6 separate regions of the Homo sapiens genome follow, and all the other regions are linked to region 4. Evidence: promoter capture Hi-C in 16 types of primary human blood cells and fetal thymus (Javierre and others, 2016). All regions are on one chromosome and are shown on one strand. Each heading gives the region's core, a stretch centred on a gene start or on the middle of the fragment in contact. The rest is flanking DNA. Distances are from core to core; before and after follow the strand shown. Region 1 holds the start of LINC00619 (long intergenic non-protein coding RNA 619). Region 2 has its middle 19 kb from the start of LINC00619. Region 3 overlaps LOC105378275 (a long non-coding RNA gene). Region 4 holds the start of LINC02881 (long intergenic non-protein coding RNA 2881). Region 5 overlaps LINC00841 (long intergenic non-protein coding RNA 841). Region 6 overlaps LINC02659 (long intergenic non-protein coding RNA 2659).

The links. The method cuts DNA at HindIII sites, captures the fragments that hold promoters and counts their contacts. A CHiCAGO score of 5 or more calls a contact.
Region 1: the fragment with the promoter of LINC00619 here is called in contact with the fragment with the promoter of LINC02881 in region 4 in 5 of 17 cell types (M1 macrophages, megakaryocytes, M2 macrophages and 2 more); the score reaches 6.0 in M1 macrophages.
Region 2: a contact is called between a fragment that was not itself captured here and the fragment with the promoter of LINC02881 in region 4, in 2 of 17 cell types (M0 macrophages and monocytes). The highest score is 5.3, in M0 macrophages.
Region 3: a fragment that was not itself captured here is called in contact with the fragment with the promoter of LINC02881 in region 4 in 1 of 17 cell types (M1 macrophages); the score reaches 5.1 in M1 macrophages.
Region 5: a contact is called between a fragment that was not itself captured here and the fragment with the promoter of LINC02881 in region 4, in 1 of 17 cell types (erythroblasts). The highest score is 5.1, in erythroblasts.
Region 6: a fragment that was not itself captured here is called in contact with the fragment with the promoter of LINC02881 in region 4 in 1 of 17 cell types (megakaryocytes); the score reaches 5.4 in megakaryocytes.

The regions. Positions count from the first base shown.
Region 1 is chr10:43,842,567-43,846,812 of GRCh38, reverse strand. LINC00619 (long intergenic non-protein coding RNA 619) reads right to left here and starts at 1,507. Exons shown (of 3, transcript NR_033923.1): 1 at 1,406-1,507; 2 at 1,211-1,280. The HindIII fragment of the contact is 2,595 bases long and covers 783-3,377 here.
Region 2 is chr10:43,824,172-43,828,058 of GRCh38, reverse strand. No RefSeq gene overlaps it. Among named protein-coding and RNA genes, the nearest start is that of LINC00619, 19 kb to the left of the region's middle. The HindIII fragment of the contact is 5,025 bases long and covers 1-3,887 here.
Region 3 is chr10:43,779,835-43,784,387 of GRCh38, reverse strand. It overlaps LOC105378275 (a long non-coding RNA gene), which reads right to left. Exons shown (of 3, transcript XR_945906.4): 1 at 4,505-4,553. Among named protein-coding and RNA genes, the nearest start is that of LINC02658, 3.2 kb to the right of the region's middle. The HindIII fragment of the contact is 5,528 bases long and covers 1-4,553 here.
Region 4 is chr10:44,291,138-44,295,181 of GRCh38, reverse strand. LINC02881 (long intergenic non-protein coding RNA 2881) reads right to left here and starts at 2,432. Exons shown (of 3, transcript NR_164139.1): 1 at 2,249-2,432; 2 at 1,693-1,881; 3 at 533-1,269. It overlaps LOC124902544 (a long non-coding RNA gene), which reads left to right. Exons shown (of 3, transcript XR_007062369.1): 3 at 228-1,268. The HindIII fragment of the contact is 4,267 bases long and covers 765-4,044 here.
Region 5 is chr10:43,932,757-43,936,684 of GRCh38, reverse strand. All of the region lies in intron 2 of LINC00841 (long intergenic non-protein coding RNA 841), which reads right to left. Among named protein-coding and RNA genes, the nearest start is that of LINC02659, 22 kb to the right of the region's middle. The HindIII fragment of the contact is 6,851 bases long and covers 1-3,928 here.
Region 6 is chr10:43,903,508-43,907,633 of GRCh38, reverse strand. It overlaps LINC02659 (long intergenic non-protein coding RNA 2659), which reads left to right. Exons shown (of 3, transcript NR_184145.1): 2 at 3,413-4,126. Among named protein-coding and RNA genes, the nearest start is that of LINC00841, 3.7 kb to the left of the region's middle. The HindIII fragment of the contact is 7,287 bases long and covers 1-4,126 here.

The DNA of each region.
Region 1 (4,246 bases), core at 258-2,757, 450 kb after region 4:
GTCTTACCCCTGGCCCACATCCTGTTGAAGTTCCCTGACTGCAGCTACAGCAACTTTGATTTTGGAAATGATTTGAGAGCAGCTTGCTGTAAAAGCGCTCTACTTTGGGCTGGCAGCTGGACTTTACCTTCACCATTTGCCATGCAGGTGAGCCTTGGACTTAGCTGGTTCTTGGTGTGCTTGCCACAGACTTGGTGACGCCCCATCCCTCCGCTGACAACCGGAAATTCTTCACTTCCTGCCTGGTGCTTCCCAGCGCGCCCTGCTGCCAGGAGAACGGCGGCAGGCAGGCGTCTTTTCAGGATGCCCTTCCAGCTGCCCGAGGGCCCCGCTCCTCCTCTGCCCTTAGCATCAGGGACACGTCCACTCCCTCCCAAGCCTCTGCAAATGCTCCCTGCTCTAGGAATGAGGTGGAGCAAACAGCACTTAGCACAAAGGCCAACCTTCCACAAGGAGTAGCTGTTTTTACATCATTTCCTCATCCACTTTTACAATTACATGAATAATTCTTAAATAAGTAATATATACACATGACAAAATCAAAGGCACAAGAGGTCAAATCAAAGGTCAAGAGGCACATCATTCAGTTTCTGACTCCACATCTGTTTTATCTGGCATGCTAGTGTGTGGCATGCATAGCACTCATTCCTGGGTTTTTTTAAATACTCAAATAAATTTTATTTTCTCTTTAGTTTGCCGAATAAATTCAGCACATCTTTCTTGGCATTGCAAATCACGTATTCCTGATGTGGACAGTCCCAGTTCTAAGAACTATGGAAGCTTATTATGTTTTTTTTTAAGCTGAAAATATTCTGATTTTTAAATGTCAAAAAACACAAATGTATAAAAGGTTTATGATGAAAGTCCCAGTCCTATCTTTAGCACTGGGTTGCCCAATTACCCAAGACCCTCCACTGGGAGGCAAATATAATTTTTAAAATATTTTTTAATATTTTGCTATTAATAAACTAAGATAGCCACCTGTAGCTGACCATGTCCTCCTTTTGCCACTGCAATGTCAAAATGCCCACTTCTGTTTTGGCACTAAGATAATACAGTTCTGATTTTCTGCATGAGTCTCCTCCGCCATACTGCAGGCACCTTGACCGCAGGGAACACTAAGGCATCAACAGATGTCTCTGGGACGATGTTGACAGAGCCGTTCCCCCACAGAACTTAATAATCAATGAGACCGATAAACTGCACATACCTGTGGAACTTTGGGGAGCCAAGGGTCAGAATCCACCATACCCACATCTCTTCTTCCACATCTCTTCTTCCTGTTTCCAGAGCAGCAACCAAGGCTCATACCAGCCTCTCACCCACTTCAGACACACCCCTTGCCCTCACCTGTGGGGCAGGTTTCCCAGGCTCTGGGGCCACTGCCCGTCTGGACAGGAAGTACCTGGAGGAGAGGTCCGGGGGTGGAATGCTTTGGCCAGAGGAGCAGGCTGGCTCCACGCTTGTCTGCTGGGGGCGGGATGATTCCTTTGGACTCATGGCATCTGGCCTCTCTGGCAGCAGATTCTCCCTTTTCTAAGCCTGCCCTACCCCCTCATGATTCTCTGGATTTCTCACGTTGCACCTGCCTCAGACCACAGGCCACTTAATGACCTCAGAGACTAAGTAACCACCATGCCAACTAAAATGTGACCTGCATGCCCCTCCCTTGGTTATGATTTAGGTTTTACACCACAATCCCTTCTAGTTATTTGGTTTCTTTTTTTGTTTTGTTTTTCCCATGCCTTTCAAATGTAAGCCTTGGGAGGAAGGAATTCTTGTCCCTTCTGTTCACTGTGATATTCTTCCGAACAGTGTTCACTGGATAGAAGGCCTTCAATAAATAGTACTCAAATAAATAAATGACTACATAAATTGTCAAGATACAATCTTCCAGGAACTGTACTAATGGCTGGAAAACAGAAGTGGGGGGAAAAGAAAAAGAGGCCTCACCCTCAGGGAACTAACAATCTTCTGGAGAAAAAAAAATGGGCTAATATGTATACATGTGGATATATAATTTAAAATTAAGGATGTTAGGAAGGATAATTCTGTTGTTTCTACCCCACAGGGCAAGGTTGTTAGTTTTTGTTTTGCTTTGTTTTGTCATGCTGTATTAACTGTGAAAGTGTATCCTCCACCTCCTGAGAATCAATCACTTCTTGGTATTCTCAATCACTCCACTATAATTATAATCCGGATTTTCAGAGTCAGAAATTCCTGTTTCTAGCCTTTGTTCTGATGTGGAGCAGGATCTCCCTGAGTTGCTTCACTGGAGACTACAAGCCTGCAGACACAGGGCCCCCTCCTCCTGTGGACACCCTTCAGCCTCACAGACTGGCAGCACTTGCAAACCCTCGAGAATGTCATCATCTACCCGCCTGGTACAGCAGCCTCTGTGAGAGGTGGGCCCCTTGGCTCCTTCCCTTCATGGAATTCTGTGAGTTTTTTATGACTAAAAAAGGAATTCACAAGTCCACCTCGCAATGGTGAGATGCAGATGGTTTTTGAACATAGAGCCCCAAGTCACCAACTTTTCATCATTATTGCCAGCCCAAACCTAAATCAACATTCAGTTGCTTTTATAAGAAGTAGGTGAAAGATCTTGAGGGAAAAAAGTCATGGAACACTTGAAGATTACACTGGATGAAGAGAATTATCTTTATTGAACCCAGATCTAAAAAGCAGGGCTCACTCAGGAAGAATTCCATCCACAGGCCAGCACATTTGCTCTGGAGTGGAGCACCCAGAACTGCACGATGTATGGAACTGACAGGTTCTGTCTTTCCACCTCTTTCTTTGGCAGGCCCGGATCTGTTTTTCATTGTCTTCGCCACATGTTTTCTCCTTGGTGTATGTTGCAATTTTTGACTTGTAGAGCATCAAAAAGAAACAAAGCAAACCTCCAAGAACAGCAGAATTTGGCCAGAGCCAAAAGCAACTCAGAATTTGAACTGAACTTGCTCAAAGCAGGGCAAGAAGACAGAGGCTTACGAAAATGCCTTTTGTTTGAACCAAAGACTGGAGCCAAAGAATCTGTGTCCAGAAGCTCTTGTGCATGGATGAGCCTCCGATCCCAACCTTCAAGAAGCCAGCTGGACAAGGAGAGGCTGGCAGCTGTGTCCCAGAGAGCTGAAGCCACAAACCCATCCCGCTTTGGCACTGAAGTTCGAGCCCCATGGAGCTTGGAGAGTTCTAACAGATTCCACCCCCACGGCAGTGGATCTATCCCCGGGTTTAGGGTGATGTGCATTCCAGGCACACTGTGTCCATTAACTCAGTGACACATTCTAATATTCTACTGATTGCATCAGCCCTTGTCTCAATTACCCAAAGATGCTGTGACTGTAGGACTCCAGATTTACATTATAGAAGCTTCCCCTACCACAGGCCCAGCCCCCAGCATCCAGCTTGAGACACATGTGACTCATGCCACAGAAGGCTTCTGTGTGTCTGGCCCCCACATCTTCCAGGGCTAGCCCCTGTCCTGACTTCTGACAGCACAGATCAATCCAGGAAGGACCACTCAGAACACAATCACCTTGTTATTATACGTGCAGTCAGTAAGTGAGCATGCTGTCCATCCTATCCCCCAACGTTTCATTCATATCTCCATTTAGAGGCAGTGGAGCTAAGAGACACAAGTCCCATTGCCAGGGTTTGATTCTGGCCCAGCCATTGCTTACCCCCATGAGGCTTCTGTTTCCTCATCTTTAAAATGAAGGCAAAAATGTCAGATTACCCCAAGGAGTAAATAAGATAACGTGTGGGACATATAACACGAACAGCTCCCCCAGCCCATAAGAAGCAGTCCAAGTCCCTTCCCCTTCCTCCTTCCTTCTTTCCTCCATTCATTCCTGCTGCTCTTCCTTTTTTTCTTACACTAATTCATTCTTTCTGTTCGTCTTCCTCAGCAGTGTCTCCTGGAAGAAGTTCTGGCCTTGGCAGCCACTGGCACAGCCACTTTCCATGAGGACGGGCCCTGGCAGCTCTGGGGCTCTTGCCCTCCCCGGTTCTCACACCATATGCAGGGAACCACTCACGGGGCAGCCCCAGAACCCAGTGGTGGCAAGGTCTGTGGCTCCCACCTGCCCTGTCCTGATCCTTCGCATGAGGCTGCTCTAGCTCCAGACTCCTCCCTCTCGATGCCCTGCCCAACCCCCGTGCTTCCTTCTGCAGCAAACGGCACCACCAGCTCCCACGTTCCCTGGCATTTCCGCCCCCAGCCTGGCCATCAATCCATTTC
Region 2 (3,887 bases), core at 1,010-3,509, 470 kb after region 4:
GTTACCCAGAGAGTACATGCTTATGTCCTGTGGGAGGAATAACAGAAAAAGCAAATGGTAGCAATGCTGGGAAAAACTGAGCACCTTTTCCCAGTGGGACCAAGTTTGGGACACGGCTGATCCTGCAGCATCTGGACAAGCAGCAAGAGCTGGGAGGAGATAGTGGAACAGTGGAAGATCTGAAGCTAAGAGTCTCAAGGTGGGCTGGTGAGCGATCTCACAGCTGGGAAAGTCTTGCAGACCCGAGACACGGAGTCCCTACTTTCCTTCTTTGATTTAGAAACTTTTGTGAAGGGAGATAGCTGTGTGAAGACATGGGAGAAACCAACTCTTTACTTAAATTCTATAGGTTTAAGTTTTATTATGGTTTGTGTTGATCAAAACTCTTTATAGCCTATACCTAGAGTACTCAAACTCAGAGAGACAGAAAGTAGAATTGGTAGTTACCAGGGTCTAGGGATGGGAGAGAATGGGGAGTCTGTGTTTAATGGGGACAGAGTTTCTGTCTGAGATGATGGAAAAGTTCTGGAGATAGATGGTGATGATGTTGTACAACAACGTGAATGTACAAACTTTACATTATGTACATCTTACCACAATAAAAAAATCTTTTAAAATATAAACCAAAAAAAAAACCTCTTTATAATCTCTTTCAAGTGAGGAATTACCAAGTGCTCAACAGGCTGCTTAGAATGGGAGGCAGGGGTGAGGGGCAATGCCAGGCACATGACCCGCTTTGTACACTTACGATTGCTGCTATTTATTGAGTGTCTACCCTCTCTGCCAGCTCCTACACTAAGCACTTTACATGTACTCATTCTAATCCTAAAAAAAGAGAAAAGGAAAGAAAAACAGGAGCCTGCAAGGCTTCGAGGTGCATTGTATTTCCCACATTTTACAGAATCAACTTAGTGTCCTTGTGGTAAGAGTGTTTCTGGTGAGATGGTAAAGTCGTGTGTTTGTGAATTGTACATCATTCAATTCAATTCTTTTGGAGTTAATGATTCTACAAGAAAATATAGTCGAACTAGACATTCACTTACAGTGGAGCTCCGCTGGGTTCCCTAACTCTTAGTAACAGAGCTGCCCCCTCCGCTTCCCCTCACGCCCAGAGTCCTAGTAACAGAGTTGCCCGCGGAGAGGCTGCTGCTCTCAGGCCCTGGTCAGGGTGATGGATGTGAGTTTGCTCAGTCCTTCCTCCACGTGGGATAACCGAGAATATCCAGAATTTTTACCTAAATTGGAACTGGCACACAAAGCGTAAAGTCTGGCAAAAGAGGACTAAGCAGATACATGTGAAACTACCACAGTCAAACAGCCTCTAGTGGCACAGCTGTGGGACATCGATGCACTTGTCAATGGTGGGGACTGGACAGGAGGCTGCAGGCCACTGCACCGTCCTAAGGCCACTCAGGACAAGGCCAGTCCCCAATTTGTTTCACTGTGAGACAGCTGCGCAGTCAGAGCCCAGATACGGTCACCAGACTCCCGGACTTGGATTCAGCTCCACATCGTGTCACCCTGGCTAAAGGATGTACACCTCTGCGTGACTGGGTTTGTCACCTGGCAGCATGGATGCTCAAGCGACTGACCTGTCAGGACAGCAGCAAATGAACTGAAGCTGGGGGAGCGTGCAGGCTGGTGCTGTGTGGAGCTCTGGGGCAGAAGGCACTCACCAGGGGTGCCCAGAGCCGGGGTCTGTGAGTCGCGCGCTGGGTCCGGGTCACAGGCGCTGGGTGAACAGATTGAGAAGACAAAATGAGGATGTACTCCTTACATGCTCACGAAAAGCCTTCTTCCCCTTCGTTGGGAACGACCCCCCCAGACACTAGACCCAGGCCACACCTGGAGTCAGCCGCAGGCAACTCAGAGGAGCGCGAGCCCGGGAGCCTCGGGAGGGCCTCGGAGGTGGGTGGGGGTGAGGGGAGCCTCAGGAGGGCCGCGGGTGGTGAGGGGGGCCTCTGGAAGGTCTGGAGCCCGCTGAAGGCAGGCGATGACGCAGGCCCAGTGCACATGTCCCAGGGCTCCTGTCTAGGCACACGGAAGCTGCATGTTCGTTTCTTTGTACCCATATCACACTTACTGTATTTCTTCTTCTTCTTTCTTTTCCTCCCCCAGCAGCTCTAAGCGCCCTACAGCTTCCATGGAAAGGCAAAAGGGACTTCCCTATTGCACCGTCTGCGGGTACCACTGTTCCAGCCCTGAAGGGACTAGGGGATGCTGCGCTGTGGGGAAAGTCCGGGTGGCAGGAGATGGCGGGGCTCCTGGAGGAGGTGCTGGGATGCGCTGCTGTGGCTGCTGAGAAAGGTCCTGAGGGCGCAGCCCGCCCTTTCCCCGAGCTGCGAGCTGCGAGCTGCGAGGGAGCCCGGCGGGGAGGACCGGCAGGGTCTCTGGGAGGGAGGAACAGGGGAGCCTGGAGTCTCAGGGCTGCCGGGAGCAGAGGCGCTCTGGGTGGTGAACGTCCCCAGCCTGCCCTCCCTGCTCACTGCGGAGTCACGCGCCCGCTCTGCTCTGGGCCTCCCCTCAGCTCTGGCCTCCAGGCAGTTTCCTTTCTGCCAGGTAGATTCTGTGCGACTTCATTTATTCAGAATCTGGATCAGCAAATGAACATTCAGGTAGGAAAGGGGTGTTTGGAAGGGTGGAGAGGTTTCCAAGCAGGCGCCCACCTGAGGGGCCCCCTGAAGGGAAACAAAGGGGACTTAAAGCCAGGTTTCCAGCTCGGCCACCCCTTCCTTTTTTTGTCTTTTTTCTTTTTTAAAAAAATATAAACAAAGAGCTTGAATTATTTTGAAATAACTATTGGTAGCTGGACTGTGTTCTCTTGACCACAACATTGCTCTGGGACTGAACCGCGTGGGTCTCTGCTCTTCCTAAGTGTTACATAAGAATAGCGAACCCATGAGGTCAGCTTCTAAACCAGTTTCTTCCCATAACCTCCTGGACCAAGGCCCAAGCAAGGCCGAGAGGAGCTCAAGGTCCCACTCTCACCAGGACGGGCCTCTCTCTCTAGTTGGCAGGAGGCGATGAATGTCGCCCAGTAATTTAAGGTTGTTCATGTTTGGGTAGAAAAGCCAAGCACAGGCCCATATTCTAGAGGATTGCTTGTGGCAGGCAGAAGGCCATCAAAGGCAAACCCAAACAAACAAAAAAGTGTCTTTTGAAGCTAATGGAGCAGATCAGATTGGTGAAAAGTAGATTAACAATAGCATTTGGAACAAAACTTTCAGCATAGTGCTTGCCCGAAAGTACTTACAGCCCTTTAAAATTGAGAGTGGGACCAGGCACTATGGCTCACAACTGTAATCCCAGCACTTTGGGAGGCTGAGGCGGGCAGATCACTTGAGTCCAGGAGTTTGAGACCAGCCTGGGCAACATAGTGAAAACCTGCCACTACTAAAAATACAAAGAGTAGCCGGGCACAGTGGCGCTCACCTGTAATCCCAGCTACTTGGAGGCTGAGGCACGAGAATTGCTTGAACCTGGGAGGCAGAGGTTGCAGTGAGCCAAGGTCGTGCCACTGCACTCCAGCCTGGATAACAGAGTGAGACTCTGTCTCAAAAATAAAATAAAATAAATAACATTGTCACTGGGTGGAATTGTAGACAAGGCAAAGATGTGTCTACACAGTTCCAACCAAGAGTAAGGCAATTATAAAAATCCACTTTTGCATACCTAAGGGCATTGCCTAGATATTTGGAATCATATATTTGGTTAATTTGAGTTTTTTCATAGAAAGCAGGTAAACATAGCCAACTTTTATAATGAAGTAAATTTTCAATCTCATGTTAACCTTAACTCTTTCATAGTCTGAATAGACCATATTCACAGTGATATGAGAGCCAGACATTTTAAATAAAATCACAGGAATAATGTTCTTTGTTTATGTC
Region 3 (4,553 bases), core at 1,260-3,759, 510 kb after region 4:
AACGAATGTCCCTTTTCTGGGGAAGCCCTTCCTGGCCTCCCAGACAGACCTAAAACTGCCCATGTCACCTTCACTGCACTTATGATACTTAGGATTTTATAATTATTTGTATAGTCACTTAATATTTGTCTCTTCAGTTAGGCCAGCCATCAGCTCATTGACAGAAGGACTGCTCTCTGATTCAGGGTGGGGTCCCCACCTCCTAACTCACAAGCTCAGTGCTCAGTAGGTGTCTATTGAATGAATATATGATGGACACCTTTCCAACATATGACTTTGCTCCTGAAAGTTCTGGATTCCCTTCCTCTCCTTGGTGGATCACTTAAGAGAGGGAAGATCAGTTCACTTCCCCTTCATTGAATCACTCTTGTGTATTCTCAAGAGATTTCATAAGGTCAGACAAAATCAACTTCTCAAGTTCAAGCCAGAACTCTTTTTTTACATTACCAGTATTTCAGAAACCGAGGTCCTCATTTGTTAAAAGACAAAGAGAACTCATCCTTGTCCAAGCCAACAGTGGACATAGAAGAGCATGAGCACACTTGGCCAAAGTGCATCCTAGGAGGAGGCCCAGCATACACAAAGGCCCTGAAGCCAGAGCTCACCTGGTATTTGCAGGAAGAGCAAGGCCTCCAGAGTCAGGAGTGGAATGGGTAGGGAGGAGAGGCTTTTCCAACACGAGAAGCCATGGGGCTATTTGAGAGCACCAGCAGAGGAGGTGCAGAGCTGAATGTATGTTTTAAAAGTCTTACCATAGCTACTATGTAGAGAAGACATTGCAGGGGCTGACTGCGAGGGAAGAATTGGGAGACAGCGCTGCTACCTCTCCTCCGCTACTCTCTGGCTCCCCTGAACAGATTTAGAAAGAGAAGGTTTATGGGGAAATCAGGTGGAGGAAAGAGGTCAGGGAAACAGTACAGGGAGCAGTTCTCTGGTCAACGCCAAGAGTCGTTCCCTTGCCAGGCATGGCAGGGCTTGGTCGTGGCCTGGGTTTTGAGCCATGACAGAGGAAGTTACTGGCCTTTGAACTAGGCTGATGGATTTGCTCCATCTTGGGCTAGGAGACAATGATTGAGGTCAGCTATCAAAGCCTTTCTATGAAACCTCCAGAAAGTAACCACAGCTCAGACCTAAGACTGCTCAGTGGCCTGAGAGCCAACAACATGGGCCTGTGAGGGGAGAGATGACCACAGGCCCCAAGCCGTTGTCCCTCCCTATCTGTCCCAGGCTCAGACACTGCCAGCTTCTGCACGTGATTCTTGGTTCAGCCCCTTAGGTTCCCATGCTGTGGAAATTCCCCCAGGATTCTGAAGACCAGGTGAGTGGCCTCAGTAGGAGCACAGCCCTGGGGTCCAGGAAGGGCTAGACATGACACCCATCGTGCCCCTTGCTGGCTGAGTCTGTGGGGTTGTGCATGCCTGGGCGGGTGGGTGTCCTCTGTAAGTGGGGTCAGTTACTCCGCCAACCTTGATGAGCTGCTGGAAGTACCCAGCATGATACCTGGTATGCAATACACATGCAGTAAGAATCTGTTAGTATCCAAGCGTTTCTGTTTCTTCCTAGGTCTTTTCATGGAAAGGGAGAGGAGGTTGTATCTGGAATTCTTACCAGGTGCCATTTTCCATGGAAACCTAAAATATATTTTGGAATCATGTAGAGCTAGTCCCTTCTCCTAGTTTTCTTTTTAAAGTTTCCTAATTGCTTTTCTATATAGGTTTGTACAGATTCTCTAAAGTAGCCTAAGAATCTGAATGGTCCTGGGTTGAGTTTGGTGCTCCTGGCTGGGAAGGGGTGAGGCCCACTGCTGAGAAGTGACTGACGTCTAGCTGTGGCCCCAAAAGAAGGTGGAAGGAAGCAGCGTCCGGCTCTCTGTGACTCCATCCACACAGGAGGGCTTGCCCACACCATCATGACGGGCTGAATATTTGGAAACTTGGAAACTCAGAATTCAGTTTTGGTCTCCTCCACTCTCAGGAAACCCAGATGACATGTGTCTGTGCATGCACATGGCCCTTTGGCTACACAGGGCAAAGTGAAGGCTGGTGGGGCCCCTGGAAATAAGCAAATAAAGAGCAGCCCCCACTGTCTTCAGGGGCTTGGTGTCCTGCAGTGGGAGGTCAGTGCCCCTGCAGAGCCTGCCCTGTCTTGCCACCAGTGCCTCCCAGAAGCCTGGCCCCATGCAGGAAGTGCTTATCAGTGAGATTGTTGAAGAGCAAACAGTCAATGTGGTCTCTACCACAACTGGCATGATTAATTTAGGGGCTGAGTCAGCTGGCTATGACAATTTTTGTCCCCTTCTGCATATAGAAACCAAAACTCTACTGTAGGCTGGTTGTGGGGAGAGGGCATTAAACTCTGACAGGTTGCAAATGTCCTGGGGAAAATGACCTCTGCTCCCTCTGCTCCCACCCGGATCCCTGCTCTGGAGGCCTGGACTAATTAGCGTCTGGCAGGTGTCTGGAAAGAGCTGCCTGGCCGGCCATGGTGACATCATGGCTGGGCATTGCTCCCCCATTCCACTGCTGAGAAAGTCTCTGTTTCATTAGGCTTCCAGGATTACTTTTTAATTTTTTTTAATCCCCTTTGTAGGTTCTGGCTCCAATCAGTCTTGGAGAACATTCTGCACGCTCCTTCCCACTCCCACTGCCTCAACAACTGTGCTCCAGTTAAAGTTACTGTTCCCGGAGGAGTGAGGCTCACCTTCCCCAGGCAGCAGGCGCAGCCCTACAACCCAGCCCCCACACATCAGCACCAGCAACCCACACTGCTGTTGCTTTATACTCATATACTAGGGATGGAGATTTCAATGTGGCTGCTGTGTTCTCAACTTTGTGCTTTTCAGATGTTTCTAAAGGGCTTCTTCATCACCTCACTTGTTCCTGGATTGTAGTTGGAATGCAATTTAGATACTTCAAATAGTTAAGTTGGTTCAGACATTTGTAGTCTTGGGAATAATCCACTTGATAAGTTGTGGAATAAAAAAAGCTAAAAACCTGTGTTCACGGAACTATACAAAACAAAGAGTGAACCCTACAGTAACCTAGGGACTTTAATTAATAAGAATTCATCAGTATTGGTTCATCCATTGTACAAACATTCCACATTAATGCAATATGTTTGTAATAGGGAAACTGGGGTCAGGGGAGAGCATGTGGGAACTCTCCATTGTGTCTGCTCCACTTTTTTAAGCCAAAAACTGCTCTCAAAAATTGTCTGTTAATTTAAAAATAGTAATATGAGCAGGAGAGAAGTAGATGGTGGCATAGATGAAATAAGATTAGCCCATAGTTGGGGTAATTTTTGAGAATGGGTGATGGGTCTGTGGGTGGGGGTTCATTATAAATTATGAAACTCATAATTTTAATACAGTTTTTTTTAACAAAACTTATACTAATTCAACAATGTGTCTTTTCTCATTACAAAATAATTCACATACACTGTAGATATTTGAAAAATATTAGAAAGTACCTATAATGAAGTCACCCAAAAATATCTATCATCAGCATTTTGATATGGCTATATATACAGATAACAAAATGGGGGTCTTACTGAGGAAGCAGCTTAGGGCCCTGTCCTTTTCTTCAACTTTGTAATGTACTAAGAACATCTTCCCATGTCTTAAAATAACTCCAAAAGCATGCTTTTTAAATAGCCACATAACATTTCATGGTATAACTGAAGTCCAGAAATTGAATTCCCACCTTAATGGCCCTCGTCTCGTCTGGCTGAGATCATCAGAGGTGTGAGTCTGCCATGCACATCAGGCCTGCAGCAGAGAAGCCTGACAGTAAGAAGGCCCTTTGGCCTTGGTGTCCAGCTGGGGGTGAATTTCTCACATTCAAGTTGTAAATGCACCTCCACGCTGTGTAACAGGGTGGAAAAGGCACATTTCCCCTTTGGGATGTACATAACCTCGGGTAGATTTACTATTTACAAAAAGGCAGAGGCTGGACTTGAGTATTCAGGGCCCTAACGTGAGTGTCGTTGCTTTCCTTGGACCAGAGGCCCAGGTGGGGTCCAGGGGGTGCCCAGGAATCAAGATAATTTCTGCACCACTGAGTCACCCTGACCTTCCCTCCTGCCCAAGAAAGCACGTCAGAGGGCAAGTGAGTGAGAATGATGTTACAGCAATAAAATTCACTTACAAACTAGCAAACCCTTGAACTCAACCTCCCTCCCAACTGTGGCTGCAAACCACCCAGAGGATGGCCCACTGGCTGCAGGTGGGCCCAGGAGCCCAAGGCTGGGCCTAATGATGGGTCTTCTCAGATAACCATCCCTCTCCTGGGGCAGAGAATCAAGGTTAAAGTTGGATTGCAATGGGACCCAGAAGCCGAGTAGATGGAATGCACCCTGGCCAGACTGTAGATCATACATCTAATGAGACTTCTAGCCAGATATGGAAGAAGCAGATTCTCAGTGCACGAGCCAGTTCTTCCAGAAGCTAAGCAGATACAGGCGCCAGCCCACCAAGACCTTTGCCAAAGGTATTTTCTTCACATACCTGGAGAGAAAAGAGGGCCTACAACTTTAAATCTGAGGAATATGTTTTC
Region 4 (4,044 bases), core at 1,183-3,682:
ATATGAATGTGTGGTGCGTGTGTATGCATGTGGGGCCTGTGTGTATGTATGTGGGGCATGTGTGTGTAATGTGTGTGTATGCATGTGTGCCATGTGCGTTCTGGTTAGGAGTCTGTCTCTGGAAGGCGACAGAAGGACAATAAGATGCATTTTCACTCCAGGCTGGCAGGTCCTGGTGGGGACTGGGCTGAGAGGACTGAAATGACACAGCCTTGCCTTGCTCCCAGGCCCCACAGAGGCATCCTTTCAGAAATGGCAAGCGCCGCCCCTCAGGATGGGGAGTGTACTGAGGCGGAGGTATTATGACGCATTGCCCAGGAACTGATTACAGCCTTTCTGAAAATATCAGAACAAACCAAAGTACTTTTTTTCTCTCACTCAACAACAATCAACACAGAAGACTTCTGTGACCAAATGTGTGGGTTTTCTCCCCACCACAAGCAAGAAGGCAGTTCTACATCGGACAATTCCAACATCGACACCTTCTACCTGGAGGTGGCCTCACACCCCACAAGCCCAAGCCTCATGTCCCAAGCCTGCCCTCCACTTCCAATGCCAATGGCAAGGTGGTCTTACCTGTGCTTCTGACCCACTGGCGTTCCCACGAATCAATGTTCCCAGGACGCCTCCTAACACTTGAATAATTCGCTAGAGCAGCTCACAGAGCTCAGGGAAAGGCCTACTTACATTTACTATAAAGGATGTTACAGAGGAGAGAGACACAGAGATGCCTGGGGCAAGACATATGAGGAGGGCGAGAAGCTTCCATGCCCTCCTGGGGCTGTCGAACTAAAACGAAGAAGCTGAAAGTTTTGCTCCAAATGCCATTGTTTATCCATTTTTGACCACCTGATCTGTTCCATTAGCTTCAAAAGATGCCTTTTCATTTGTTTCGTTTTGCCTTCGATGGCCTTCCGCCTGCCGCAAGCAACCCTCTAGAATATGGGCCTGTGCTTGGCTTTTCTACACAAACATGAGCAGCCTTCAATTACTGGGGGACATTCATTTCCTCCTTCCAACTAGAGAGCGAGGAGTGTCCCGGGGAGAGTGGGTCCTTGAGCTCCTCTGGGCCTTGCTTGGGACTTGGTCCAGGAGGTTATGGGAAGAAACTGGTTTAGAAGCTGACCTCATGGGTTCGCTATTCTTATGTAACACTTAGGAAGAGCAGAGACCCACGCGATTCAGTCCCAGAGCAATGTTGCGGTCAAGAGAACACAGTCCAGCTACCAACAGTTATTTCAAAATAATTCAAGCTCTTTGTTTATATTTCTGAAAGAAAGAAAGAAAAAAAAAGGGTGGCCCAGCTGGAAACTCGGCTTTAAGTCCCCTTTCAGGGGGCCCTCAGGTGGGCACCTGCTTGGAAACCTCTCCACCCCTCCAAACACCCTTTTCCTCTCTGAGTGTTCATTTGTTGATCCAGATTCTGAATAAATGAAGCCGTACAGAATCCACCTGGCAAAAATGGAAACTGCCTGGAGGCCAGGGCTGAGGGAAGGCCTGGAGCAGAGCCGGTGCGCGACCTCGCAGTGAGCAGGGAGGGCAGGCTGGGGACGTTCACCACCCAGAACGCCTCTGCTCCCCGCAACCCTGAGACTCCAGGCTCCCCTGTTCCTCCCTCCGGGAGACCCTGCCCGTCCTCCCCGCGGGGCTCCTTCGCAGTTCGGGGGAAGGGACGGGTTGCGTCCTCGGGACCTTTCTCTGCAGCCACAGCAGCGCATCCCAGCACCTCCTCCAGGAGCCCCGCCACCTCCTGCCACCCGGACTTTCCCCACAGCGCAGCGTCCCCTCGTCCTCTCAGGGCTGGAACAGCGGTACCCGCAGACAGTGCAAAAGGGAAGTCCCTGTTGCCTTCCCATGCAAACTGTAGGGCGCTTACAGCTGCTGGGAGAGGAAAGGAAAGAAGAAATACAGTGAGTGTGATATGGGTACAAAGAAACCAACACGGAGCTTCCGTGGGCCTAGAAAGGAGCCCCCAGGAGAAGTACACTGGGCCTGCGTCATCGCCTGCCTTCAGCGGGCTCCATCCTTCCCCAGGCCCCCCTCCCCACCCACCTCCCACCCGCGGTCCTCCCGAGGCCCCCCTCCCCGCCCCCCCTTCTCGCTTCCCCATCCCCCTCCCACCCGCGGCCCTCCCGAAGCCCCCCTCCCCACCTCCCCACCTCCATTCTTCGCCTCCCCAACCCCGCTCCGAGTCTCCCCGCCTCCCTATCCCGCCTCCCACCCGCGGCCCTCCCGACGCCCCCTTCACCTCCCCACTCCCGAGGCCCTCCTGAGGCCCCTGGGCTCCCGCTCCTCCGAGTTGCCTGCGGCCGAGTCCTGGCGCGGCCTGGGACTGCCTGTTGGGGGGAGGGGGTGGGGGGGGGTCGTTCCCAAAGAAGGGGAAGGAGGCCTTTCGTGAGCATCTGAGGAGTACATCCTCATTTTGTCTTCTCACTCTGTCCACCCAGAGCCTGTGACCCGGATCCAACCCGCGGCGCACAGACCCCGGCTCTGGGCACCCCTGGTGAGCGCCTTCTGCGCCAGAGCTCCGTACAGCACCAGCCCGCGCTCTCCCCCAGCTTCTGTTCATTTGCTGCAGTCCTGACGGGTCAGTTGCCTGAGCATCCATGCTGCCATCCATACAAACCCAGGCACGCAGAGATGTACATCCTTTACCCAGGGTGACACCATGTGGAGCTGAATCCAAGTCCGGGAGTCTGATGACCGTGTCTGGGCTCTGACCGCGCAGCCGTCTCACAGTGAAACAAATTGCGGACTGGCCTTGTCCTGAGTGGCCTTAGGAAGCTGCAGTGGCCTGCAGTCTCCTGGCCAGTCTGTAGAATTTGGCAAAGATGAGGCACCTTATAGCCTTACATGTTCTTATTTTTCTTTCCTTTTCTCTTCTTTATTTTCTTTTTTAAGGATTTGAATTAGTATATGTAAAGTGCTTAACGCAGGAGCTGGCAGAGAAAGTGGATACTCAGTAAATAACAGCAATTGTTAATTGTAAAAAGCATGCCACTTATCTGGTAAAATCCCCCATTCTAAGCACCCTGTTAAGTAGTTGGTAATTCCTCACTTGAAAGAAATTAAAAAGAATTTTTGTCAGTTTTTTAAAATATTGTTTTATTGTGATAAAATATTCATAACATAAATTTCACTCTTTTAATACTTTTTAAGTGTACAATGCAGATTAATAAGAGAAATGCATACAAATTTATTAACGTGTACACGGGAAAAATAAGGTGATTACCCAATATCCCATGAGGTCCAGATACTTATACAGCGTTTTTTCAGAGAGGAGGGTGGAAGGCGGAATGTAGGTGATTCTGTTGAGGGGCAATAAATTATTATTAAGGAGAATGAATGGGTCAAGAAACAGAGAGTTATTCGTAAATGGTTCTCTTTGAAAATTTAATAAGCTGGAGAAATGGATTATTTTTTTGAAAGCGTCTGTTCAGGTGTGGTCACGTGTTGGTTTTCTTTTCTGCAATAGATAATGAGATAAGAGGGAGGAGAAGGAAAAGTAATTGTTCTCTTTGGTGGGTCTGCAGGGTCTTCATGTAGATAAGGGAGAGGACTCTTCCAGCTTCTGTTGATCTTGAGGGACTTTAATTGAAAATACTCATACCAGGGAGCCATATTTTGGGGCCAAGTTCCCTGCGCTCCTTCAATCCTCCTGTTTGGAACTTCCCTAGAATTTCACATTATCAACAGCTGAATCAGTGATTATGGAGAGATTTGGGTTAGAGGAAAAGAAGGCAAAGAAGGGGAAAAAACAAATTGGGATAAGCAGAAAAGAAAAATAAATAAATATGTTGTCCCATATCTTCTTGAATCAGTCTCTTAGTCCTAAGAGTAGAAGCATTTGGTCAAACAGCTGTGTCCATTCTAGGAGGTGGCACTACAGAGGGGCTGGGCTTCTACAGCTGATGCAGGCAAGCTGGTCTTTAATAAGAGGCATTTCTATGGAAACAAAGAAAAACAAAGGTTTTTCTTAATGTCTGGAATAGTCCATAATAAACTAGTTTTTCTAGAGTCTCAGAAGTATCTTCAGATTGTAGT
Region 5 (3,928 bases), core at 818-3,317, 360 kb after region 4:
CCTGAGGTCAGGAGTTCAAGACCAGCCTGGTCAACATGGTGAAATTCTGTCTCCACTAAAAACACACACACACACACACACACAAAAAGTAGCCATGTGTGGTGGTGCATGACTGTAGTCCCAGCTACTCAGGAGGCTGAGGCAGGAGAATTGTTTGAACCCAAAAAGCAGAGGTTGCAGTGAGCCGAGATTGCGCCACTGCATTCCAGACTGGGCAACAGAGCAAGACTCTGTCTCAAAAATAAAAATAAAAATAAATCTTCAAAAAACAAAAATCGTCAGTCTTAGCATTTTTTAAATGGCCGAAAAGTTTACTTTTTTTCCTGTGAACTTCTTTTTATTGGGAAATCTACCTTCTGATTTCAAAGTCTCCTTACTGAAGTATATTCTCTGTTATGTCTTCTACGAGGTTTTGTGGAATCCATCACATCTTCATGGACTATTATGCCATCTGTGAGTAAAAATAACTTTAATTCTTCCTTTCCACTCTCAGTGACTTTTTTCTCTTTCTTGCCTAATTGCCCTGACAGGAACACCCAGTATCTGTTGACTAGAAAAGGTAAAGACAGACACCTTGTTCTGTTTCTGATCATAATGGGAAGGATTCGGTCTGTCAGCCTGAAGTAGGAACATTAACTACAGAGTTTTTTCCTAACTGCCTTCTGTCAGATCAGGAAACTTTTTCTCTATTCCTAGTTTTCTGAGAGTTTTTATCAGGAATACGTGATGAGTTTTGTCAAATACTTTTTCTGTGTTTGTTGAGATGATAGGTGGGGTTTTTTTTTTCGTTTTCAATTTCCTAATGTGGTGAAATGCACTGACTGATTTTCAAATGTTAAATCATCATTGAATCCCTGCAATACAACTACTCGGTGGTGATTCATTTTTTATATTATTGAATTCGGTTTGCTAAAAAAAATGTTTTTAAGAGTGTTTCCCTCTACGATGGATTGAATTCTATCCCCCAAATTTATATGTTGAAGCCTTAACCCCCAATGTGACTATATCGAGAGATAGGGCATTTAATGAGGTAATTAAAGTTAAATGAGGTCATAAGGATGGGATCTTAATCCAATAAGACTGGTGTCCTTATAAGAAGAGGGAGAAATACCAGGAGTGAATGTGCATGAGGAAAGGCCATGTGAGGACATGCAAGAAGACAGCCTTCTGCAAGCCCAGGAGAGAGGACCCACCAGCAGCCTGCTGGCACCTTGATCTCATCTTCCAACCTCCAAAACTGTGAGAAAATAAAGTTCTGTTGTTTAAGACAGCTGGTCTGTGATATTTTCTTATGGTAGCCTGAGGGAACTAATACAGCATCTATGTTCATAAATGATATTGGTCTGCAATGTTCTTTTTCAGTTAAGGCTTTGATTTTAGTATCAGGATAAAATTGGCCTTATAGATTGAGTTGGAACATATTCACTCCTCTCCAAATTTCTGGAATAATGTCTGTAGGACTCATATTATTTCTTTCTTAAATGTTTAGAAGAATTGCCAGCAGAGTCATATGGGCCTGGAGGTTTGTTGTGGGAAGGTTTTAACAACTAATTATTTGTTTGATATAGAGCTATCTATCAAGTAGAGCTATCTCTACTTGACTGAGCATTGGTAGTTTGTATCTTTCAAGGGCTTTGTCCATTTTATATAAATTGTTGATTTATTGGCACAAAGTTGTTTAAAATATTTCTTTATTTTATTTTCAACATCTGTAGAATCTGTAGTGATGTCACCTCTCTCATTCCTATACTTGATCCTAGCCAAAACTCCGAGAAGGGATCCTCTCTCATTTCTAATATTAGTAATTTCTTTTCTAATCGGCATGCAATAAGGTTTATCAATTTTGTTAATCTTGTCAAAGAAGCAACTATTAATTTATTTAAGTTTATCTATTTTACTTCTGTTATAGATTTCATTGATTCCTATTCTGATCTTTATTATTTTCTTTCTTTTATTTAACTTGTGTTTAACTTGTTCTGCCATCCCTAATTTAAGGTAGATGCTGTTGTCATTGATTTGAGACATTCTTTTCTATAATAGAATTATAGTGCTATAACTTTCCCCTAGGAACTGCTTTAGCTGCTTACCACAAATATTGATATGTACTATTTTCTTTTTCAGGTAGTTCAAAACACTTTAGAAGTTCATTTTAATGTAGTTTTCATTTTTGCTCATGGTTTATGTTGAACTGTTTTACTCAGTTTTCAAATATTTGAGAATTTTCCAGAGGTTTTCAAAAATTGATTTCTAATTTAATATATTGGAGTCAGAGAACATACTTTGTAAAATGCTTTTAAGTTTATAGAGATTTTGCAAATGTTATGGATTGAATTTTATCCTCCTCCGCAAATTTATATGTTGAAGCCTTAACCCCCAGTGTGACTATATTTGGAGCTAGTGAGACAGGATAGTTCCCTTGAGCCCCTTTGTGGGCAGGAACTGGAGTGGCTTGTTTCACTCAGCCAGCTGTTGGCCACTCCTTGAGAGAGGGAGCACATGAGCAAGCAAGTGCAGGAACCAGAGGGAATGAATGCTAGAGCCAGCCGGTCACTCCTCTCTGTCAGGAGCAGGTTGTGTGGGCCCTGCAGCAGTGTCCAAGTCCCTGCCCTCTGAGCACCCAGGTTCTTGCCTGGCATCCAGGAAGAATCAGGTCACACAAACAGACTGAAGGGTAGTGTATGCAGAGGATTTTATTAGGTGATAAAGGTGGCTCCTTGTGGGATGGGGAATTGGAAAGGGGATGGTGCGGAAAGAAGGTGATCTTTCCCTGAAGCCACACCATCTGACGTTAGCCGTGTCTATCCTTAGTCTCAGAAGCTCCCTTGCTGCTTCTGTGCTTGCCACTCAGCAGCTTGTATTGCTCTGCCAGCTGATGTCTTTTTGTGGCAGAGCAATACAGAATAGGGGAGTGATAGACCAAAAAGGCAACATTTGGGCATTAAAAACAAGGTCAGCTGTTTTCACTTAGGGCTACAGTTCCAGGCTTAAGGGTGGGGTTTAGCCAGGAGCCCAAACATTCTGTATCAATAAGGCCTCCAATTCATGGCAAGAATATGGTATAATATGGTAAATGTCTTGAGTGCGCTTGAAAAGAATATGTATTCTGCTGTTGTCAGAGGTGTCAATTCATTCTAGCTGGCTGACTGTTGTTCAAAGTTTCTACATTATTATTGATTTTCTGTTATATAGCATATAAGTTATGGAGAAAGGGCTAGTTAAATCTCTGATTATACCTATGGATCTGTCTATTTCTCCTTCAAGTTCTCCCAGGTTTTGCTTCATTTATTGTGAAGTTCTTATTACATGCATAAAATTTAGAATTGTTACGTCATGTTGATAAATTAATGCCTTTGTTATTTTGAAATGACCTCCAAATGACCTTCTTCATTCCTGGTAGAAATTGTTGCTCTGAAATCTACTTTGCCTTGTATTTAAAATAGCCACTCCAGGTTTCTTTTGATTAGAGTTAGAATAGTTTTTTTTAATTCTTATACTTTTCATTTATTTATATCTTTGTATTTAAAATGAGTTTTACTTAGGCCGCATATGCTCAGTCTTACTTTTTTTTTTTTTTTTTTTTTGAGACAGGGTCTCACTCTGTCACCCTGGCTACAGGACAGTGGCACAACCAATTCTCATGTCTTGGCCACTGAAGTAGCTGGGATTCCAGGCTTTAGCCACCACACGTGGCCTTACTTCTTTTAAATTTACATTATAAATGGGTTGCATCTGATAATGTCTTCTTTTATATTGAGGTATGTAACTCATTTACATTTAATGTAGTTATTGATTTGATTAAGAATAGGCAACAAAAGAAAAAATGGATAAATTGAACTTCATGAACATTTAAAATTTTTGTGCATCAGAAGACACTATTGGCAGAGTAAAAACAACTCACAGAATGGGAGAATATATTTGCAAATCACTT
Region 6 (4,126 bases), core at 384-2,883, 390 kb after region 4:
CATTTCTGCAACTGATGATCATTGTCTTCGTGTTACAAAGAAACAGGAACCAAGTTTTATCGCCTTGACCCTCACTGAATTTGTGGGGGCTTTTTCTTGAAATTAAAATAAATTATCAGGGTAAGTCTAGGCAAAAAAAAGCCCTTCATTATTTTATCTAGATTTCTGAAGAGTCTTTCTTTAACTTGGGAAAATTTCCACCAAATAGTTCTTTAATGATAGCTCCACTTTTGGAGGTTCTTTCTCTGGAATGCCTAATATTTATAAATTAAATATATCTCAGCCCATGCTTTTCCTATATTTTCTCTAATTAACCTTCTCTTATCCTCTTCCTCTGACTTCTGTGATGTCAAATTTGACTTCTCTCTTATAAAACCTTTTTTACTGAAAGGTCCATTTTGCTCTCCCCTTCCCCGTTTCCATTTCTGAAATGAACATTTTTTAAATCATCTCACAGCCTTCCCTACCCTGTTTGTTTTTTTTCTTTATGGTTCTCTACTCGAATTTCATAGAAGAAATGCTCATTTGAAGTTTATTGGAAACACAGATCAGAAGTGTTCTCAAAATTTTCCCATCTCTTTCAGAAACTATATTTTATAGGAAAATATTTCCCCTGATTCCTCAGAGTGCTTCCTCCTTTTGAACTGTGCTATCTTCTCATTCTCCTGGTGATTTTCATCTGTGTGCTCGACATTACAGAGGGAATGCAATGTTTGTCCAGAACCATTAGTGGGGATCCCGGTCTGAGTTATTCCGACCCAAGGGAAGGGGCAGGGAAGAAGACCGAGTTCTCAGTTCTCTATGCTGATTCAGCAGCCCCGGGAGCCAGGAAGCAAGCCGTTCTGAGATGGCCTGAGTGGAGCGTCTCTGCCCTTGGTTCTTTTCTCAGTTTGGAAGCCACTGGGAGTTTCCTGGAAGTGCCCTTGTTCTCTGCTGAGCGCCAGCGAGGTTCACCCCTGTTCTTGGCCTGTTCATGGCTCACAGCCCATGACAAGTGTCAGCTGGGGTTAGTGCCTCCCTGGCTTTGTGAAAGGCAGAATCTCTACCTACAAATCTTACAGCCTCCCTCTTCCCCTCTGGGCCTCTCTTCTGGACAGCGCACATGCCAGGAAAAGCTACAGGGCATTGGAGAGAGTCTTCTAGACCTTCCCCGTGATCCTTCCCAACTACATTGTTCCTTCTTTACATGTAAGGAACTAAGCTAAGGGAACTCTCGACATTTCCATCATGCGGCTGTCACCCTACCCTTCCCTCAGCCGATTCACATTTCCCCATTCATACAGTAACAAAGCATGTCAGCATGTAGTTTGCTTAGGATAATTTCTCAGATTTCACAGTATGAATATTTCACTGAATTTTCTCCCTTGAACAGAGTCCATTTTTCCTTTTTCTGGAACAAATGATATGTAAAAAACTGTATGAACCCCATTTTCATTTGGAAGCTGTTCCATGAAATATATTATCTAATTTAACAATGGGTCCCATTGTCAAATTTATTCTCAATACGAAGGCCAGCCATAGATTATCAAAACTTGCAGGCTGGTCAGCGTTCTGTGGGCTTCTGGTGAGATGTTTTACAGATAACATTCTGTATAGGAAGCAATCATGGCTTCATTCTATGATAGGCAAGGTGCCAGGAAATGCTAAATCAAGTGGCAATCGAGTCCCTAAAGAAAGTCATTTCTGATTTATGGTGATAGCTCCAACAATTCTGCTGAACTTTTTACACACTGAAATGACTACTTAGTTATGTTTTCCATTGGAGCAGAGAACAGCTGGCCTGCCAGAGACCCAGCACAGCAGCTGGAATGCAGAAACTCTCATACCATTAACCCCAAAGCCTGAGAAAAAGATTTCTTATTTCTGAAATGTAAGCGCTTGTTTTCTCCCAGCACATCTGACACCCTGAGTCTGTGGTGGCGTTCAGAAAGTGGGAAGCAGCCTGAACTGGGCTGGAGGCGAGGGCAGGAAAAGAGGAGTCAGGCGCTGGCACAATGGGGACTGAGCACTAGCAGGAGCTCCCCAAGGGCCGGGGGTGGTCTGCGTTATTTTTTAATTTATCACAGTTTCAACAGACTTATCTCGAGCAGTCTTGTCTTCCAGCTGCTGGAGCTGCCTGAAACCCTCTAGAGTGTGTGTGTGTGTGTGTGTGTGTGTGTGTGTGTGTCCACGTGCACGTGTGTGTTTTCTTCTGTGTTTGTATATTTTGCTCCTGGAGCTTTAAGAAGAGCCTAGATTAGTATTGTCCAATAGAGTGTGATACAAAGCACATACATAGTTTCAAATGTTCTAGGAGCCACACTAAAAAAAAAAAAAAAAAAAAAAAAAACAGTAAAGAGAAACTAGTAAAATCATGTAATATAATTTATTTAACTTAATACATCCAAAATATTATCAGTTCAGCATGTAACCTTCACATAACTTATTAATGGGATCGGTTGCTTTCTTCTCTTCAGGCCAGGTCTTTGAGCTCGTGTGTGTCTGCCATGCACTTCACACTCACAGCCCACCTCCTGTGGATTGGCCACACGCCTGGGTCTCAGTAGCTCGTGTGCCGGCAGCTGGGATGGGGGCAGGCTGGGCAGTGAAGAAGAACAACCTCCCCCTGTTCTAACTCATTCAGCTCTGCTCGGGTCTTCGTATTTCCCTGGCCCTGAAGCTCCCCCTCTCGGAGGTGCCCCTCTACCAGCCCCTTGAAGAATCGTGTGTGAACCATCACTCCTAGCCCTGTGCTACCAGCCCACCTCACTCACAGCTCATGCAGAACTTTGTAACTAAAATCCCAGGACCTGGAAAATACATGTCTGGGAGCTCCCAGACATAACAATCACTTCTGGACTCCCAGGAGAAGGCCATATCTTTCCCTTGGTCTTCCCTGCCCACTTCCAATCGTTGTCTCACCCTGTTTCTCCACAAACTCTCTCCTCTTTTCCTCTCTGCTCTCCCTTTCCAGATTGAGCAGGATGGTGGTGGGGCTGCTGGGGGGGCATTTCTGGGTCCTGTCCTGGGGAAACAGCTTGCAGAGGGGAGGCAGGGAAGGGCAAGGCATGCTCTCACTTCACTGTCAGTCCTGCAGCTAAGAGTCTGAGGCTGGACCACCGCCTCTGCATGGGACAACAAAACCGGGCTGGCGGCACTCCCGCGACAGTTCCCAGACACCCACAACCCAGGCAGGTGGCGCACCTGAGTAAAGGTGTCTGGGTATCGGATGGGACTGGTGGGCCTGGAAAACACAGGCCCCACCCAGGACATTTAAATTCAGCTTTTAACCCTGTGCAAGCCAAGCAAAACCAGTGGGAGCCAAAGAGTCATCAGCTTGTGGTTCCCAAGAGAGGGACGGGTCCTGGGGACTCTGTTCACAGCTTGTAGGTATCGAGGGACAGCTACCTTGCCTCCTGCCCCACCCTTTTAGGGATCTGCTGTCTATAAACTGCCGGATGTCAGGTACCTGGTTCATCATCTTCATTTTCATGCACGTCAACAGCCACATCACTGACCTTCCAACAAATCTTCCAGCCTTACCGACCCTCAGTCCTCGCCTCTAATGGCCCTATATTCCATCCGGAATCGGACCCTCAAGTGAAGTGAAATGCAGCCTGTAACTCAGAGAGTGGCAGGTTGTCTCCTCTGAACCGGTGTCAGGTGCTACTTTCTCCGCAACCCTAGGCTGTAGGCACTCAGCAGCCCCAGAATCTGCAGGCTTAGCCCTGCCATCCAGAGAGCAGTCCCTGCTGCTGCTCAGGGGGGCCATGCAGCCCAAGACGAGCCTAGATTCCCTCACAGTCTCTGCACTGTCAGGGTCCCCTAAGCTCTGCCAGGTCTCCCTAGTCGGAATGCAACATGTCTGTCTCCATGTTCCGAATTGCATCCAGTCCACCCGCAGGGCCTGTAGCCCTGCCCAGAGGTCCAGGTGGAAGGCATGATGCCCTGTGCAGTCCTGCCCAGACCCCTTCTCAGGAGGTGAGACTCTGCCCTACACATCCAGCAAGGTGCTAAACAGATCAGGTGGAACGAGAATGTCACTGCCTCGTAGTCCACCTGCAGGTACTGGAAACTGCTACCATTGCCCAGACTAGCAGAATAGATTTCACCTTCGAAAGCGACCCTGGCCTGGATCCTGCTGCTT